2 separate regions of the Homo sapiens genome follow, and region 2 is linked to region 1. Evidence: promoter capture Hi-C in human tissues and cell types (Jung and others, 2019). All regions are on one chromosome and are shown on one strand. The core of a region is centred on a gene start or on the middle of the fragment in contact, and the rest is flanking DNA. Distances in the headings are between cores, read along the strand shown. Region 1 holds the start of UGT2B10 (UDP glucuronosyltransferase family 2 member B10). Region 2 has its middle 35 kb from the start of UGT2B10.

Region 1 (7,211 bases), core at 1,371-3,870:
TTTTTAAAAGTACAACTTGCCTGAATTACAAGGCAATCTGTGAAACAAGTTAAGTAGTAGGCATTTAGAAGATAAATATTTTCTAAGACTGAGAAATGTAAGCAATGTTGCAAATATTCAGAAAAGGATATTATTGTGATTTAGACAAAATATTTTCAAATGAAACAAAGTAACTGTAATTGTACTTAAAACATATCTGTTTGGATAAAAATAAAAGGAATTTCTACAGTCAGAAAAACAATGTCAAGGAACATGAAATGAAGCTAATATAATAAGTGTGAAACTACATAGAGAAAATGAAGATATTCTATTTGAGAATGTTTAGATAAATAAGAATAGATCACACCACTGCCTCATTGTTGACAGAATGATGCTTTCTTATACTAGAAACTCTTTATATACAATTAAATTATCTCTTGTTCTGGAGACAGCCACATTTACAATAAGCAAATAACAATAAATTTATTATTCACACATACAAACACAAAATCATTCATCCTTTTCTTTATTCTCTTGCTTTCCAAAAACTCTATTGTCAACACTTAAATCATTGTGACATTGATTGACATTGATATGTACCAAGTTAGAGAAAGTTAGAAAGAAAGATAGCATTTTAACAAGTTGTCTAAGAAATGGGCTTTTTTGTTTCTTATGCTGACAGTTGTATTCTAGCTCTGAGTCCTGTGAGAATGTGCTGGTGTGGCCAGTGAAATACAGTCTTTATATCAATTTAATAATGATACTTGATGAACTTGCTCAGAAACACCAAGAGGTAACTGTGCTTGTCACCTTCAGCTTCCATCCTCATTGATTCCAACAATTTGCTGTTAAATTTGAGGTTTATCCCACATCTTTTACTGAGAATGAACTTGATTTCATTTTTATGAAATTGATCAAGATATGGACATACAAGTTTCCAAAGAGTACATTTTGGCATATGATTCAAAGATACAAAAAACACATATTATGAATGTTCTGATACTGTTCAAAAGCTCTGTGAGTATGCTGTTTTGAACAAGAAACTTATAAGGAACAACAAGATTCCAGAATTTATGTCATTCTTGCAGATGTCATTTCTCATTAGTGAGCTGCTATCTGAACAGCTTAATCTGTTAAACATTTGTTATACATTTGGTCTACTATCATCCATTTACAACTGGCAGTATGTACCAAGAACTCTGTGGAGGACTTTCATTACCTCCTTCTGATGTAGCTGTTGTCATGTCAGAACTTAGTACCAAAATACATTTACAGAAAGATGAAAAATCTTTTGCATTTTCTTCATTTTAACTTTGCATTTGATAATTTTAACAAAAAGAAGTGTGATCAGTTTTACAGTGAAGTATTAGGTAAGTTAGTGGTTAATTTATTCCCTTTTCCCTCCAATATGTGGAAGGAAACTTTCCTTTCTTTGTGTCTGTTAGAGTGTGTTAATGAATTAAAATAGAAAATAACCTTTTTTGTTATTTGAAAGATGAGGTTTGGCAAGTTGGTGGAGACACTGAAACTCTCATACATTGTTGGTGAGAATAGAAAATTATTCACCCACTGTGAAAAAGTCTAGCAATTCCTCAAAAGTTTACACATATATTTACCACATAATTCAATAATTGCCTTTCTAGGCATATACCCAAGAAAAATAAAAACATGTCTACAGAAAGCATGTACATCAATGTTAATCAACGCTATTCATAATGGCCAAAAGTGGAAGAAAAACAATGTCCGTACACTGATAAATGAATGAATAAATAAATTGTGTTTATAAGTAGCATCTGATACTATTTGGCAATAAAAATGTGAACGCTATTTATAATGGCCAAAAGTGGAAGAAAATCAATGTCCATCCACTGAAAAATGAATAAATAATTTCTGCTTATAAGTAGCATCTGATAAAAAGCAATAAAAATGAAATCCTTATATACACTATTCTATGGATGGTCCTTTAAAAACATTAAACTAAATAAAAGTAGCCAGCCACAAAAGACCACATATTATATAGTTTCATTTATTTTTAAAAAGATCCTGAATAGGCATATTTGTAGAGGCAGAAATTAGATTACTGGTTGCCCAGTACAGTGTGGGTGCAGAAATTCAGGTGGGGAGATGACAGTTAATATACAGGATTTTTTTTTTTTTTAGATAAAACTGATTGCTATGTTGGATGCACAAGTCTGTGAATTTACTAGGAAATATTTAATTTTAAATAATCATTCATGAATCATATGGTATGTGAATTATACTTCAACAAAGTTTTACAAAATATTCCTTGAACCAAGATATTCAAAAATTCTATTTGCATTGTATAATTACTTCATCTCTCATTCTGTGTCAAGGGGCCTGCAGGACTCTCTCACTTGCCACTGTTCTTGACACTATTATAAAATACATTATATAAAACACGATATTTGCAAGGTCATTAAACTTAGGTGGATGACACCAAATATAAACATAAAAGAAACATCAAACATCCTTGAGTAAATATGAAGTAATCGAACTTTGTCTCCTTGCCATCCATGTACTCAGGATGCTCATATAATGTATTTACTTTGAATTGAAGGAGTTATGTTTTAACTTGATTGATTTATCTCTGTATATAAGTATGAGAAAGAAACAGTGACTGGAAAAGAATTATCACATTGCACAAGGATGGCTCTGAAATGGACTACAGTTCTGCTGATACAACTCAGTTTTTACTTTAGCTCTGGGAGTTGTGGAAAGGTGCTGGTATGGGCCGCAGAATACAGCCTTTGGATGAATATGAAGACAATCCTGAAAGAACTTGTTCAGAGAGGTCATGAGGTGACTGTACTGGCATCTTCAGCTTCCATTCTTTTTGATCCCAACGACTCATCCACTCTTAAACTTGAAGTTTATCCTACATCTTTAACTAAAACTGAATTTGAGAATATCATCATGCAATTGGTTAAGAGATTGTCAGAAATTCAAAAAGATACATTTTGGTTACCTTTTTCACAAGAACAAGAAATCCTGTGGGCAATTAATGACATAATTAGAAACTTCTGTAAAGATGTAGTTTCAAATAAGAAACTTATGAAAAAACTACAAGAGTCAAGATTTGACATCGTTTTTGCAGATGCTTATTTACCCTGTGGTGAGCTGCTGGCTGAGCTATTTAACATACCCTTTGTGTACAGTCACAGCTTCAGTCCTGGCTACTCATTTGAAAGGCACAGTGGAGGATTTATTTTCCCTCCTTCCTACGTACCTGTTGTTATGTCAAAATTAAGTGATCAAATGACTTTCATGGAGAGGGTAAAAAATATGCTCTATGTGCTTTATTTTGACTTTTGGTTCCAAATATTTAATATGAAGAAGTGGGATCAGTTTTACAGTGAAGTTTTAGGTAAGATTTTTTTCAATTAGTAACATGAAGCTCTAACTTATTTGTGTCTTTGAAGCACAACTTGCATAAAGCCATAAAGTCAGGGAAGTGGAGTTTTTGGTAAATGAATTTATGAAATGAAAATACAAGATGATCTACCAATCTCACAAATATTATAGAAAAGCTTAAATTATAGGGTCAGTGAAAACGCTGTGACCATCACTCATACAGAACACCCCAGGAAATCATAAACCTATATATTAGTACACCTAAGACTTTAAGCAATTATATATCTGTTTTACTATAGAATGTTTCAGATCTTAAAAACAGCAAGATCCGTCAAGTAACATCTAACCGAATGCATAGATTTAGAATGAGTAATTACACATTTTTCTACAACTATCTATATAACTGCAGAAATTTTTCCTTCTAAATCTCAGTTGTCTTATTTAGAAATTAAAAGATGTTCCCATGTTACCAGGAGGTTGTCTTCACAGTAGAGAGAGATAATGTCTATATCTCAGATGCAAAAATCAATAAGGGTAATTTGAAGTTTCAAATGTTTCTATACTCCTTCACTAAATAATTGGAAATCTTTTATTTAAAGTCCAATCATCTTGTTGAAGTGTGAAGGTTGTTATATCTATATAGTTTATTTGAAACTATGTCTCTTTATTTAAAAATACGAGACTGATTATGGTCGAGTACAGATCTCTATTTCAATAATTTCTCAAAAATTTCTAGCTATAATTTACAAATATTTTTACTTAATATTATTAAGATCTTAGCTTGGATCCAAATGAGTAGTTGGTACAATGATTTCAGCCATACTCACAAAATAGTCCACAGTTAACTTGAAGAACCAAAGATAAAAGGATTAGCTTAATGAGTTGTGTAAACTAGACTATTTGTTAGAAAATTGTTTCTATGGTTACTGTAGAATTAATTGATTATGGAGCTCAAAGATTTGTTTAAATATCTAGAGGCTACTATTGAAGCTTTAAAGAGAAAATAAATTGATGTTTAATTCTCTATGACTTATTTTAATAATTGTGAGTATACTGACATGACATTAGAGATGTAGCTTAACCTCATAATTCTCCCACTACTTTGCCTTTCTTATAAATAAACAAGGGCAAAATATAGAATACATAAAAAATAAATTATTCCTATATATGAATATATGTACATATTTTTCAAAGCACACAAACTTTACCAACATTTTTGCCTGCATTATTCTAACCCCTTTCAGAAAATTACATAAAGTAATTATCTTATGTCATCCACTTCTTCTTTTCTTTATTCCTATCAGGAAGACCCACTACATTATCTGAGACAATGAGGAAAGCTGACATATGGCTTATGCGAAACTCCTGGAATTTTAAATTTCCTCATCCATTCTTACCAAATGTTGATTTTGTTGGAGGACTCCACTGCAAACCTGCCAAACCCCTACCTAAGGTAAACATACTTTCGTTGGTTTTATTTTGTTGGCTTCAAATTTCAGTAGAAATGACTGTATAGTCTTCATTCAGAGTGTTTGACTAACACTGAAAAAGATGGGAAGTAGGTGGGGTAAAGCAGATACCAATTAGAAACTCATGTACATGTTAATACCATCACACGTATGTGAGTTTTATGCATGTTACAAATAGAGAGGAATACTAAAGAAACTTTGAAAATAGGGTTGGTTAAATTAAAGTCTTGATTATGCAACACCTAAGAAGGTATTGGTCATTCATTCAAAGAATATTTACAAAGAGATTATCACAAAACACAGGTAAGTGCACAATTTTCAGAGAAAAAAAATAGACACAGTTTCTGTCCCTACATACCTTACATTCTACTTTGAAATATAGAATATAAGTAAGTAATGAATATTATATAAAAACTATTATCTCAAGAAAAAAACCCAATGCTAAGAAAGCATCAGTGGAGATAATAGAAAGTATCCTGGAGTCACTGATGAGTACGATGAGAGCTGAACAATATGCAGGAATAGGGAAAAGAATGGTGGGGAGAGACAGACAAAAAGGGAAAGCAGATAAAGTGGTCAGGACAGTTCTCAAGTCCTCAGGTTTAGTTTGCAGGGAATGATTAAGAATCAGATGACCCTAAAAGGTAAATTAGAGCCAGATACGTATTAGGAGTTGAAATATTTATTAAGAACATTGAAAACATCCTAAAAAGAGTTCAGAAATAAGGATATATGAAATGATTCTTTTTATAAGAAAAGCCTCCAAGATATTCAATGGATTAAATTGCAGAAGGGCCAGACTGTAAAGACCGAAACATTCAGGAAATTTTCCATGGATTCAGGTAGCAGATGATGAAAAAGTGGACTACACTGTTGATAGAAATAATTATGCCTACATTTACAAAAATAGTGCCAACTTCATATTGTGTTGTGTGGAAAAAAATATTAACACAGACAAAACACTTAAAATGTCTCTGGCATATAGTCAGTGACTCAGAAATGTTATTAATTTTGCAATTATGGTTATTTTATTACTAATACTACTAACTACTTAACATGTGCATGTCACTTGAGATATCATTCCTCATTTAAGAGAACCAGATTATTCAGCACATCAAGGTTATATTGTCTTGGAATGTCATAGATGACAGATACCCTTGGACTTGATTAAAAGTAGACATATCAGTTGTGACAGCAAGATAAGCTAGTTGAAATTTTAAAATTCTTCCATAAGTAATAAGGATCTTCACCAGTATTCCAGCTTAAAACACTTCCTCAACAATATAAATGTGTGCCTCAAATATGTGCAGACAAACACAGGGTTCACATGATTTTAATAAAGCATTTAAATCATTCTGCATTGAGATCCCAGAATTTTACATTTTAGAGCATAAACATATCCTATTAGAGCAGATGATTTCTGCCTTATGACAGGCCACTCAATAAAGCTTCCTGGGGGAACTCGTCTTGACATCATAGGTGTCTGACAGAGAAGCACAGAGATAATGAACAATGCATGTATAATAAAGACCAAATAATTTCTGCCACTTGTTTCTGAATAGTGCCCTTAATTTCAATACGAAAAAAAATTCCGTCAGCATATAAGATTATATTCTTTTCGAAGGAATACAAGAACTTCATATATTTTAATTAACATCACATTTTAAGGCATATGTAAAAAGTAAGGCTTCTTCAATGGATTATTATGCAATCTCTTAAAAGATCATTTTTGCTTGCATAAAACTGAGAATTTGTTCCATTGTTAAAACTCAGTATCTATGTTTAATGCAAGTTGTATAGGCTTTATAGAGTCAGTTTCTTAAGAGACAAAAGTTGAGGTAAGACTAATGAAAAATATATGCCACTCTACCCTACTCTTGAAAGATTTCCCCACTCACACTAAGGGAAACTGACAGTGCCAGTAGAAGGAGGAAGAGAGTAGGACAATGTAGAAGGACAAGAAAAAAAGGTTGACTGGTAGTACAATAGTGGTAATAACTAATACTAGCTCTTGTTATTAACTTGCAGAAAGCATTGAATGAAAGTCAATGGTTGTGAAACCAGTTCTTTAATTGTTTATTATGTAAAATATTTGCTAAGCCAGGTTGCTTTCTTTTCAATTATATATTAGATTCTCAGATAATTTCTATATATTTTAAGAGAATAAGACACTTGACAAAATGTATCAGGTGTTTTAAAAATACATATTGTTATTAGTTTTATAATATAGTCATGTGAAATCATAAAAAAATTAATCAAGGTGTACCTTTTAAACATTATGGAAAATATTCACAAAATTAACATTGGAAGTAATCCAACATGTTACATGAAATAATGATTAGAAACATATGCCTACAATAGCACTAAAATGATTTTATCAATGAAATGTTC
Region 2 (7,211 bases), core at 3,320-5,819, 36 kb after region 1:
CCTTTATTCTTAGTTTTTCTCTCCCATCACGGAAATTCCATCCTATGAGTGGACTGGGGCAATGGCTATTTGGTACTCAGTATTCTTTGTGCCGTTCTTGAGTTGAATCTCTGAGTTATGACTGTGGCTGAATGAAAGATGTGAGACCCTTCTTAGCCACACTTGCCTAGAATTAAGCTTCTGGAGCATATGCCTGAGTCTATATATATAAAAAAATCAGAGAGACACCTTTTCTCAACTGCATACCCTGACACTCAACTGGGAGCTTTGAAGAGTGAGAGCCCTGTGGTAGCATCAGCACCTCCCTGGAAGAGAGGGAGTTTCTGTCACTGAACTAGGAGGGGGGGCAAATGAGCATGTTGTGGCTTAAATGCCAAAGACACTTGCTGTTTTCACTACAAATTACTGGATTTTCTTCAGTGAATGTTACTTTATTATATGTCTTTAGGATTATTGCCAGGGACACCAAATGGTTGTTTTAAAAAACAATTTTCACCAGTTATTCCTGTTTCCCTTGAAATTTCCTCCATGGAACTTTTTATGCTACCATTTGAGAATGGTCTATTTCAGAATGTCTTGTAAAGTCTCTCTACTTTCCGCATATATTAAAACAATCAATCAAAAAGTAAAAAGTAATATTCTTTCTTTTAATTTTTATTTTATGTTTGGGGTACATGTGAAGGTTTGTTATGTAGGTAAACTTGTGTCATGGTGGTTTGTTGTACAGATTATTTTGTCACCCAAGTATTAAGTTTAGTACCCAATAGTTATTTTTTCTGCTCCTCTACCTCCTCCAACCTTCCACCATCTGAAAGTCTCTAGTGTCTGTTGTTTTCCTCTATGTGTTCATATGTCCTAATCATTTAGCTCCAACTTACAAGTGAGGACATGCAGTATTTGGTTTTCTTTTCCTGCATTAGTTCATTAATTTGCAAAGGATAATGTGCTCCATCTTCCATCATATTCCTCCTGCAAAAGACATAGTCTTGCTTTTCTTGTGGCTTCATAGTATTCCATGTTGAATGTGTACCACATTTTCTTTACCCAGTCTACCACTGATAAGCATTTAGGTTGATTCCATGTCCTTGCTAATAATTAGTGATGTTGAGCATTTTTCATATGCTTGTTGGCTAGGAAATACCATCCTATGCATAGAAATGGGCAAAGCTTTTATGAAGCAGATGCCAAAAGCAATTGCAACAGAAACAAATGATGACAAATGGGATCTGGTAAAAATAAAGAGCATCTGCACAGCAAAAGAAACTATGAACACTCTGAATATAAAACCTACAGAATGGTACCAAATGTTCACAAACTATACCTCTGACAAAGTTCTAATGTCCAGCATCTATAATGAATATAAACAAATTAAAAAAAAACAACTTTATTAAAATGTGGGCAAAGAACAGGAAAAGTAAATTTTTATTTATCAGAAAATTGCAATTTAAGGACTAGAGATAGGAGACAAATCCATGACAAGGTTCAGGTCAAGGCAAAGCTCATAAGAAGTTGGCATTGACCAGGAGTTAGTATTGTCATTATAACAGTGGGTTAGTGGTCAAAAGTATGAAAGCACATGGCCTCAGTTTGAATCCTGAGCTGACATCTACCTGTCTTATTAAAAGGATATGAAAAGACACTTCTCAAAAGAAGATGTTTATGCAGCCAACAAATATATGAAAAAAAGATCAACATCACTGGTCATTAGAGAAATGCAGATCAAAACCACAGTGGGATACCATCTCATGCCAGTTAGAATGGTGACCACTAAAAAGTCAGGAAATAACAGATGCTGGAGAGGATGTGGAGAAATAGGAATGCTTTTACACTGTTGGTGGGAGTGTAAATTTGTTCTACCATTGTGGAAGACAGTGTGGTGATTCCTCAAGGATCTAGAACAAGAAATATCATTCGACCCAGTGATCCCATTACTGAGTATATACCCAAAAGCTTATAAATCATTCTACTATGAAGATACATGCACACGTACATTTATTGTGGCACTGTTCACAATAGCAAAGACTTGGAACCAACCCAAATTTCCATCAATGATAGGTTGAATAAAGTGGCACATATACACCATGGAATACTATGCAGCCATAAAAAAGGCTGAGCTCATGTCATTTGCAGGGACATGGATGAAGCTGGAAACCATCATTCTCAGCAAACTAACACAAGAACAGAAAATAAAACACCGCATGCTCTCACTCATAAGTGGGAGTTGAACATTGAGTACACATGGACACAGGGAGGGGAACATCACACACTGGGGCCTGTCAGGGGGTAGAAGGGTAGGGGAGAAATAGCATTAGGAGAAATACCTAATGTAGATGACAGGTTGATGGGTGCAGCAAACCACCACGGCACATGTATACCTATGTAACCAACCTGCACATTCTGCACATGTATCCCAGAACTTAAAGTATAATAAAAAAAATTTTAAAAATAAAGAATAAATTGTCTCTACAAAAAACTTCTTAAAAAATTAGCCTAGTGTTGTGGTGTTCCTGTAGTCCTAGCTACTCAGCAGGCTGAGGTGGGAGGATCCCTAGAGCCTAGGAGTCAGAGGTTACAGTAAGCTTCAATGTCACCACTGCATTTCAGCCTGTGCAACAGAGAGAGAGACCCTGTCTCAAAACAAAAGAAAAGGATTACCAAACCCAAACATAAAGCTTTTAGAGAAAAATAGGAGCCATCTCCCTTGATTACTTGGCAGCAGGCAAAGCTTTCTTAGACAGATTACAGAAAAAGCATAAAAGAAAAAATAATAAAATAATAAATTAGACTTCATAAACAAATGACAACAGTGAAAACTCCCACTCACAAGACACTGTAGAAACAATCCAAGTATCCACCAATTGGAGAATGAATAAACAAACGAGGTGCAGAATATGCAGTATACTCATATACATCTGTGACACGCAACAATACAGATGAATCCAAAACATGTTAGGCTGAGTGGAAACTAGCCACAAAAGAGTACATACTGAATGCATAATTTCATATATAAGATATTCTAAAACAATCTCCTCTGGGAAGCAAGGGCTGAGTTGGACTGCAAAGAGGCATGAAGGGACATTTGTGTGGTCATAATAATGTCTTATGGGTTTGGGTTTATAGAGGTGTAAGCATTTGTTGAAACTCAAAAAATGTATAGTGAAGATACATGCATTTCGTTGTATGCAAATTTTATAACGAAATACTGAAAAATATACTGTAGTCAATTATATATATATATGCTGACTATGAGTAAAAAAAGCACATCTCTTCCTAGATTTTACTGTTAAATTGAATGAATAAAAATCATATATCTTTCTTATCTGGTTATTGTGAGTAGCCATGCAATGGTTCTTAGAATACTTGCTGAAATTATTCTCATCATAAAGAGATTCTTAGTAAATGTTTGCTACTATCACCGTTTTTTCTTGTTGTATTTTGATTTTAGAATTTAAGAAGAGTTCAATATTTTACTTTGAGACATTGCATTGAATGCTTTGAGGCATTTAGTGTTAAAATAATTATGGACTAATAGACAAATAATAAGGATGGATATAAGTATATGCTTACCAAGTTAAAATTATGAAGTGTTAATGCATAGCACTGTAGCAATAGCAATGGAGGTAACTTCTGTTCTTGTTATTTAAAGATCACAGTGGGAAGACTGTGTTTTTCAGAGGGTGACATTAATCCTGATTTATGTTTTTAATACAATTGTAAAAAACTATAATCAAGAAGTTACATAATACAAAGAACCAATACAATGCATGTCATTTCATATACATTCAATATGTGTTAACTATTCAAAAATTATCTTTATTTTTCAACACCAGAATGAGTTTATTAAAATTAATATTAAAAACATAATAGTAAATATTAAAATTATTTAATTTTTGTTAATGTAACTATTAATAAAATAGCATAACTAAAATTATTGTGTGTACTGAAATAATTTAAAAACAACAAATTTCTGGTTTCAGACATTTTGGCTGTTAAACAGAAATATTCCAATTTATCTCTTTCAAGCCCGTTATTTTATAATTATTTCAAATGAGACAAAAGCAACCACAACCACAATAACAAAGAATATGGTCACTTTTATACTAGTATCTTATTTTTTTCAATTGTTTTAAACAGGTAAATTTGAAAGGCGTAGTGGTTTACAATTCATCAGTGATGGGATTAAAAATATTAACATCATAATTATTTCCTTATAATTAAATAGAAGAGGAACTAGTGATTGATTATGTCATGCCAATTTACTGAAAATAAAGCATTTTGGAAGAGTTTTAAAAACAATAAAAAAATTGAGTAACTAATGTGAGATGATTGACACATGCTTACCTGCTTCATTATAGCAACCTTTTCACTACATATTTGCATCTGATGATAGCATCTCGTATACATTATATATACCAAATAAAATTTATCCAGAAAAATAACATTTGATGAGCTCTCATGCTGAAAGACTGGCATAAACATGGTGAAAACTAGACAGTACTCTAATAATATTTATGTTTCCCTGCTTCAACTTTGTTCTCAGTCTTCTTTATAATGTGTTGTTACCATCTTCAGCAATTCCTATTTCATTTTTGACTATTTTAAAACTTATGCACTAGCCTAGAACCTCTGATAAACATTTCCACTAAAACCACCAAAGTGAAGTATAGGCGACACTCCAGTATGAAGTGTGTTACCACTTCATGATAAAGACTGGGGATTTTTTCCCATATAAAATGCTGTCACTGGAAATAAAAGACAGGCTGTTATTTTTCAGTTGCAACTGAAATATCCCTACATAAGGAGAAAGGGTGTTTGTAATGATTGAATTAGGAGACAGACAACCTAGAAAATTATTGAACTTTTATTGTTTAAGAGGTAACTACAGTTGAAATAGAAATAAAGATAATTTGTTCTAGCCATAAAGAACGTAACTGTGTATAAAAAAAATGGTAACTGTTGTAATTAATTGTATTTTTCCCCCAGGACTGGAACATAAATATAAACATGCTAGATTTTATTTTTGAGTTTTTAAATAATAAATGGTGAATCTGTTTTTTTTCTGTTGAAGTATTTTCATCATGATTGGCTGTTAGCCATGTTTTCAATCTTTGTTCTTCAGAGTCTCACCAAGGCCATTCTGGACTACCCACTATACAGCGAAGTATTGATACTAAGGTATCTGATTTCCTGTCATCAAATTTCCATGTGATCATTTATATAAAGAAAATACTTTGTTCTGAGTCAAATTCAAATTAAACCATATTTGTTAGAATTCTAAAAAGACTGAGAACCCTACTAAATGCCTTCTATATAGCAGACAAAGAAAACAGAATAGGACAGGTTAATTAATGAGAACTACTAGAAGACTGAAGTAAGCAGAACAACTATATTTCCTGGACTTATTTTTACATTAGATCAGTTTAAATGCAATCATAATATTTCATACATAGTGACTTAAACAATTGAGATAATAAATGAAAAATTCAAGTATTTAATTGTTAGACAGTCATAATTCTGGTGTGAAGAAGAGTAACAAATTAATAATGGTCCACACTTTTTAAATTAATGTTTGTACTATACTCACTCTCTTCTTCCAAATTTATTATTAAGCTTTTTTATTTTTAAAACAATGAAATGGGAGACAGTTTACTTATATCCACTTGTTCCATAGTTACAGTCTGACATCTTTTGATTTACAAACAAAGCAAATCTATGTAATCCTCTCTGTATGAGAAATAAATTAATTCTGCTTAGGAATTACATATAAAGATAAAAAATTTCAAGTGGCATTTTTCATGTATATCCATAATATTATTACATTTGTTAGCATGGACATTTTTAGATATGAGAAAGAATGATTGGCATCTTATAAATAATAGTGCTGTTGAAAAAAATTCTAAAATGCAATGATGCTAAATTTTATTCAAAGACTGTTAAATCTTCGATGACATACTCCAAAGCATTGACAGCAGTGTTTAATATGGTTGTCTATAGCTAAGCCATTTGGTACATGCCTAGTACCATAATGAGGTACTGATTTTGGAATTACCAGGAAATCATCATAAACTAGTGCATAATTTACAAATTTTTAAAATTTAGTTTTTATGTGAGTGTTAAAAATAACTTCAGGTTTGCAGCCAAAAATAGTATAGGTAATTATAAAAAGCTACGTAGAATAAAAAAATAAAGAGTATTTCATAAGTATTCAAAGATCATAGTTGTGTTGTACATATTAGAAAGTTAGTTATTATTATATTTTAGGGGTTGGAGCATCTGAACTTCTCTCCTTGCTTGAGTTTTCCTCTCTTTCTTCTTCTTCTTCCTTTTTGTTTTTATTTGAAATAGTCTCACTCTGCCTTTCAGGTTGGAGTGTGGAAGTGTGATCACAGCTCACTGTAACCTTAAACTCCTGGGCTCCATCAATCCTCCTGCCTCAGCCTCAAGAATAGCTAAGACTACAGGCATGCACCTCTGCACACTTCTATTTATTATTATTATTATTACTTTTTGTAGACACAGGGTCTCTGTATGTTGCCCAGACTGGTCTCGAACTCCTGGGCTCGAGGAATTCTCCGACTTTCCTCTCTGCAGCTGGTTGTCCTGATGTCTGCTCAGCTCCTAGCTGAAAAGAGGCCTTAGAGTGGGTTGCTCCTCTCTGCAGCTTGTTGTCCCGATGTCTCTGCAGGTCTCAGAAGCTCTCCACTGAGAAGGTAGTTCCTCTCTGCAGCTGGTCATATTGTCATCTGCTCAGCTATGGCTGAACCCATAGTTTTAATGGGCCTCACTAGGGAGAAAGTGCAAGTTAATTGGTCTGTGAGCAGCCATGGGTGGGCCCAGAAGAGGCACCACAAGTTCCCACTTCGGTCCATGGGACAGACAGGCAACCTAGTCCCCAGCCTTCAGGCTTTCCCCGGTCCTGAAGATGGGGATCACTGGGGACCCACCCCCTTTTGCCCAGGAATCAGTCTGCCTCCTGCTGTCACTCATGGTGCCTAGGCTCAGTCCCAACTTTGCTATGAGATCAAGTGGGCACTGACATCAGGAAGAAGCCAGGCAGTAAGATCAGGCACTTCTGAGCCTGTGAGGGCAGAGGAGTTTCCCAACAGGTGCTATCAATAATTTAAATGTTAAAGTAACTTTGCATTGCTGAGATTAATTTCACTTATTTGTGGTATATAATAACTTTTGTATGTTCTTATATTCAGTTTGCT

Evidence for each region. Contacts are between HindIII fragments. The study calls those that stand out against the background at their distance.
Region 2: a contact is called between a fragment that was not itself captured here and the fragment with the promoter of UGT2B10 in region 1, in 1 of the 25 tissues and cell types used here (adrenal gland).

What each region holds. Positions count from the first base shown.
Region 1 is chr4:68,813,374-68,820,584 of GRCh38, forward strand. It overlaps UGT2B10 (UDP glucuronosyltransferase family 2 member B10), which reads left to right and starts at 2,621. Exons shown (of 6, transcript NM_001075.6): 1 at 2,621-3,364; 2 at 4,656-4,804. The coding sequence starts at 2,647. It also overlaps the pseudogene LOC100422189. The HindIII fragment of the contact is 5,700 bases long and covers 1-3,934 here.
Region 2 is chr4:68,847,247-68,854,457 of GRCh38, forward strand. No RefSeq gene overlaps it. Among named protein-coding and RNA genes, the nearest start is that of UGT2B10, 35 kb to the left of the region's middle. The HindIII fragment of the contact is 6,022 bases long and covers 1,559-7,211 here.